2 separate regions of the Homo sapiens genome follow, and region 2 is linked to region 1. The links are contacts of gene promoters, found by promoter capture Hi-C in human tissues and cell types (Jung and others, 2019). All regions are on one chromosome and are shown on one strand. The core of a region is centred on a gene start or on the middle of the fragment in contact, and the rest is flanking DNA. Distances in the headings are between cores, read along the strand shown. Region 1 holds the start of GDPD3 (glycerophosphodiester phosphodiesterase domain containing 3). Region 2 has its middle 15 kb from the start of PRR14.

The links. The method cuts DNA at HindIII sites, captures the fragments that hold promoters and counts their contacts. A contact is called where the count stands out against the background at its distance.
Region 2: a contact is called between a fragment that was not itself captured here and the fragment with the promoter of GDPD3 in region 1, in 1 of the 25 tissues and cell types used here (lymphoblastoid cells).

Annotation. Positions count from the first base shown.
Region 1 is chr16:30,112,093-30,115,063 of GRCh38, reverse strand. It overlaps GDPD3 (glycerophosphodiester phosphodiesterase domain containing 3), which reads left to right and starts at 1,527. Exons shown (of 10, transcript NM_024307.3): 1 at 1,527-1,724; 2 at 2,000-2,042; 3 at 2,271-2,406; 4 at 2,496-2,541; 5 at 2,640-2,758; 6 at 2,843-2,932. The coding sequence starts at 1,586. It overlaps MAPK3 (mitogen-activated protein kinase 3), which reads left to right. Exons shown (of 9, transcript NM_002746.3): 9 at 356-959. RefSeq lists a silencer at 1,262-1,556. The HindIII fragment of the contact is 6,526 bases long and covers 1-2,971 here.
Region 2 is chr16:30,634,878-30,637,720 of GRCh38, reverse strand. No RefSeq gene overlaps it. Among named protein-coding and RNA genes, the nearest start is that of PRR14, 15 kb to the left of the region's middle. RefSeq lists an enhancer at 2,353-2,843. The HindIII fragment of the contact is 7,557 bases long and covers 1-2,843 here.

The sequences.
Region 1 (2,971 bases), core at 278-2,777:
GGTCTTGCTATGTTGCCCAGGCCAGTCTCAAACTCCTGGGCTCAAGCGATCCACCACCTCAGCTTCTCAAAGTGCTGGGATTATAGGCGTGAGCCACTGTGCCCGGCCGAGACAGTTCTAATAATGAAAGCATAAAGCCCTAAGCATTGTTCTAAGAGGTTTACATGTATTAATTCCTTTAATCTTACAGCAGTACCTCAAGCTAGGTACTATTATTATCTCCATTTACAGATAAGGAAACTGAGACCCAGCCTATCCAGCTGTGAGGGTGAAATGAGAGATGTTGAGGTCAGGGCTCCAGTGGGTCTGCCCGGGGGGTGCTAACGACTCCTCTTCTGCCTGCTTCTCTCTTTAGGACCTGCCTCCTGCCTGCCCCTCTCCCGCCAGACTGTTAGAAAATGGACACTGTGCCCAGCCCGGACCTTGGCAGCCCAGGCCGGGGTGGAGCATGGGCCTGGCCACCTCTCTCCTTTGCTGAGGCCTCCAGCTTCAGGCAGGCCAAGGCCTTCTCCTCCCCACCCGCCCTCCCCACGGGGCCTCGGGACCTCAGGTGGCCCCAGTTCAATCTCCCGCTGCTGCTGCTGCGCCCTTACCTTCCCCAGCGTCCCAGTCTCTGGCAGTTCTGGAATGGAAGGGTTCTGGCTGCCCCAACCTGCTGAAGGGCAGAGGTGGAGGGTGGGGGGCGCTGAGTAGGGACTCAGGGCCATGCCTGCCCCCCTCATCTCATTCAAACCCCACCCTAGTTTCCCTGAAGGAACATTCCTTAGTCTCAAGGGCTAGCATCCCTGAGGAGCCAGGCCGGGCCGAATCCCCTCCCTGTCAAAGCTGTCACTTCGCGTGCCCTCGCTGCTTCTGTGTGTGGTGAGCAGAAGTGGAGCTGGGGGGCGTGGAGAGCCCGGCGCCCCTGCCACCTCCCTGACCCGTCTAATATATAAATATAGAGATGTGTCTATGGCTGACCCTGGCTCTGTCTGTGTTCGCGACGCCCCCGCCCTGCCCCGTGCGGCTCTGAGGACAGACTTGACTTGGGCTTTCAGGGGCCTGGTGCCCTTCACTCCCAGCTGCCCAGGGCTGGGGACGGGGCTCTGGAGAGCTCCAGACTCCTAGAAAGAAGGGGGTCAGTTTTCCCCTTAGTCACTGTCCTGTCCTCTCGCTAATGGCTTCCTGTCTAACTGGCTGGGGGTGATTCGGGGTGACTCAGGAGCACCCTACACACCCCTGGATCCTCTGAAATGGCAAGGGGTAGGCATGTTGGATGCGCTGGCTACAAGTACCAGTGAGAGGGAGAGGTCCTGACAGTCCTGGGTGGTTTTTACTCCCCTCATGTAGCCCAGGACGGGGCTGCTGGGGGCTGGGAAGGGCCTGGGGATATGAGAGCCAGGGCTACTTGCCTCACCTCCTGACACTACCCCAGCTTCAGCCGAACCCTGCAGCCTGGCTCCAAGCCAGCCCAGCGGCAGGCTCAGCAGGTCCCAGGGGCGTGGCAGTGGCCAGTAGTAGAGCCGGCCCACACTGGCTAGGCAGGCAGCACAGTCCCGCGGACGGCTGAGCGTGTGGCTGCAGGAGCTTCTGTGGGAGTACGGTCATGAGCCTTTTGCTGTACTATGCCCTCCCTGCCCTGGGCAGCTATGCCATGCTCTCCATCTTCTTCCTGCGCCGGCCTCATCTGCTGCACACGCCCAGGGCTCCCACCTTCCGCATCCGCCTGGGGGCCCACCGAGGAGGTGAGCCGGGTAGGGGTGAGAACAGGTGCCAAAGTGGACAGCACAGAGGGGTAGGTCCAAGGGGGCATGCTAGAAACGGGGCAGGGACCAAGAGAGAAGGAGAGCGAAGTGGCAGGGCAGGGTGTGGACGAGGAAGAAGATGCTGGCGCAGCCTGGGCTGGCTGGGGAGGTGAGGCCAGAGGGAGGATGGAGCCCAGAGAGGGAATGTGGGTGATGAGGTTGGGCCAGGCCCCTAGACCCCAAGCCCCAGAGGCCCACTCCAGTGCCCCCCACAGGATCTGGAGAGCTGCTGGAGAACACCATGGAGGCCATGGAGAAGTGAGTGTATCTGCCCCTGCCCAGGCTGCCATGTGAGGGTGTGCAGGTCGTGGACTGCATCACAGCAAGGGACGCCATTCACTTCCTAGCTGGGTGACTGGCGCCCCCTGGAGGTGGCCTGCACATCCCGCCACGAACTCCGCTCTCACATTCCCGGCCACCTCCCAGCCACCATGCCCCTCATCCCAGTCCCCTGCCCCTGCCCCCCGCTGACCTTCACCCCCACAGCTCCATGGCCCAGCGCTCGGACCTCCTGGAGCTCGACTGTCAGCTGACACGGGACAGAGTGGTGGTGGTGTCACATGATGAGAACCTGTGCCGCCAGTCGGGCCTAAACAGGGATGTGGGCAGCCTGGACTTCGAGGTGGGCCCTGCCCTGACACCCCAACCCCCACCCTGAGAGTCACCATGCCCAATGCGGGCCTCTAGTGACATCCTTCCTGTCCTCCCCAGGACCTGCCCCTCTACAAGGAGAAGCTGGAGGTTTACTTCTCTCCAGGTGAGAGCAAGGGCTTCGAGCCCTGCCTGGGCCATGCCTGCCTTCCTTGGACCTCCGCCTTGGCTTCCCTCTGACCCCTTTTCCCACACCACCCCCAGGCCACTTTGCTCACGGGTCAGACCGGCGCATGGTTCGTCTGGAGGACCTGTTCCAGAGGTTTCCAAGGACACCCATGAGCGTAGAGATCAAAGGGAAGAACGAAGAGCTCATCCGTGAGGTGGTGCTGCAGGCAGGGCTAGGGCGGCCACCGGGGGCGTGAGAGAGGCCTGGCTCTCCCTTCACCTCCTTCTCCTCCTCCCAGATAGCAGGCTTGGTGAGACGCTATGACCGTAATGAAATCACCATCTGGGCCTCGGAGAAGAGCTCGGTCATGAAGAAATGCAAGGCTGCCGTGAGTCCCCCCACCCCTCCCCCGTCCTCTTCCTCCTCC
Region 2 (2,843 bases), core at 250-2,749, 520 kb before region 1:
GACCTTGTGATCTGCCCGCCTCGGCCTCCCAAAGTGCTGGGATTACAGGCTTGAGCCACCGCGCCCGGCCTTACTATTATGTTTTTTTGCGATGGAGTTTCACTCTTGTTGCCCAGGCTGGAGTGCAATGGTGCGATCTTGGCTCACTGCAAGCTCTACCTCCTGGGTTCAAGTGATTCTCCTGCCTCAGCCTCCTGAGTAGCTGGGATTACAGGCGGATGCCACCACGCCCGGCTAATTTTTTTTTTTTTTTTTTAGAGTTTCGCTGTTGTCCAGGCTGGAGTGCAATGGCACGATCTCAGCTCACTGCAACTTCCGCCTTCCCAGTTTAAGCGATTCTCCTGCCTCAGCCTCCTGAGTAGCTGGGATTACAGGCACCTGCCACCACGCCCAGCTAATTTTTTGTATTTAGTAGAGAAGGGGTTTCACCATTTTGGCTAGGCTGGTCTCCAACTCCTGACCTCAGGTGATCTACCCACCTTAGCCTCCCAAAGCGCTGGATTATGGACATGAGCCAATGCGCCTGGGCAGAAATGTGGTTTTTTTTTTTTTTTTTTTGAGACTGAGTCTCACTCTATCACCCAGGCTGGAGTGCAGTGGTGCGATCTCAGCTTGCTGCAACCTCTGTCTCCTGGGTTCAAGCTATTCTCGTGCCTCAGCCGCCTGAGCAGCTGGAATTACAGGTTCACACAACCACACCCAGCTAATTTTTGTATTTTTAGTACAGATGGGGTTTCATCATGTTGGCCAAGCTGGTCTTGAAGTCCTGACCTCAAGTGATTGGCCCGCCTTGGACTCCCAACGTGCTGGGATTACAGGCATAAGCCACCGCACCTGGCCAGAAATGTACTTTTAAAATGAAGGGTGGCCGGATGCAGTGGCTCACTCCTGTAATCCCAGCACTTTAGGAGGCTGAGGCATGAAGATTGCTTGAAACAGGAGTTCGAGACCAGACTGGACAACACAGTGAGGCCCCGTTTCTGGGCACACTTGTGATTTCAGGCACAAGTCACCACGTGGGGGCTTCATCTAATTATTACCTCTGTATATTTTCCATGGTTTCCCATCTTTTACCTCTTTCATTACTACTGCATTTGTTTAGATTCTATCATCCTTGAAGGTCCAGCTGCAACAGCAGCCCCACCCATGCGTCGAAGCCTTCTGAGGTCTTTCCTTCTTCTGAGCTTCTAGGGCATCTTTTACTGTCCCTTCTGCCCTCCAATTGTGCCACCACCAGCCTGGCCAACATGGCGAAACGCCACCTGCTAAAAATACAAAAATTAGCCGGGTGTGGTGGCACATGCCTGTAATCCCAGCTACTCAGGAGGCTGAGGCAGGAGAATTGCTTTAGCTCTGGGAGGCGGAGGCTGTAGTAAGCTGAAATAGTGCCACTGCACTCTAGCCTGGATGACAGAGACTCTGTCTCTAAATAAATAAATAAATAAATAAGCAGGGCTCGGTGGCTCACACTTGTACTCCCAGCACTTTGGGAGGCTGAGGTGGGTGGATCACCTGAAGTCAGGAATTCGAGACTAGCCCGGCCAACATGGTGAAACCCTGTCTCTACTAAAAATACAAAAATTAGCCAAGCATGGTAGTGCGCACCTGTAATCCCAGCTACACGGGAAGCTGAAGCAGGAGAATCGCTTGAACCTGGGAGGCAGAGGTTGTAGTGAGCTGAGATCGCATCATTGCACTCCAGCCTAGGCAACAAGAGCGAGACTCCATCTCAAAACAAACAAAACAAACAAACAAACAAAATGCTGCTCACCTCAGAGGACTAGATGGAGAATTTTTTTTTTTTTGAGTCGGAGTTTTGTTCTTGTTGCCCAGGCTGGAGTATAATGGTGCGATCTCAGCTCACTGCAACCTCTGCCTCCCGGGTTCAAGCGATTCTCCTGCCTCAGCCTCCCGAGTAAGTGGGATTACAGGCATGCGTCACCACGCCCGGCTAATTTTGTATTTTTAGTAGAGACGGGGTTTCACAATGTTGGTCGGGCTGGTCTTGAACTCCTCACCTCAGGTGATCCGCCCGCCTCAGACTCCCAGAGTGCTGGGATTACAGGTGTGAACCACCGTGCCCTGCCTGGATGGGGATAGTTTTGTAAACTATAGAGTGCCCCCAATTTTTAGTAAAGTTACAAAGAATTTTCACACATTTTGAGTTTTATGGAGCTAGAATGCACATCACAAATACACCTATTTGAAGTGTACAATTCAATTTTTGTGCTAGCATGAAAATTTTAGTGCACTTTCATGACCACAAAAAGAAACTGCATATTCATTAGCATTCACTCCCCATTCCCCCTAGTCCTTCTTTTTTTCCCTGGGCCATAGCGTCTGGCCAATGAAACGGATTTTTGTGCTAGCGCGGCCACAATCAGTACTAGTACATTTTCATCACCCCAGAAAGAACCTCTGTATTTATTAGCATTCACTCCCCTTTCCCCGAGTCCTTCTATAGATTTGTGTATTCTAGATATTTCATATTTTATAAAACACCTTCACACATTTTTACTTGACTTCCAGGATTTTTCTTTTCTCTCTTTTTTTTTTTTGAGACAGAATTCCGCTCTTGTTGCCCAGGCTGGAGTGCAATGGCGCGATCTCGGCTCACCACAACCTCTGCCTCCCGGGTTAAAGCGATTCTCCTGCCTCAGCCTCCAGAGTAGCTGGGATTACAGGCATGCGCCACTACGCCCGGCTAATTTAGTAGAGACGGGGTTTCTCCATGTTGGTCAGGTTGGTCTCGAAGTGTGATCCGCTCAAAGTGCTGGGATTACAGGCGTGAGCCACCGTGCCCAGTCCAGGAGGATTTTTCTTTGTAAGAACCTTTTACAATG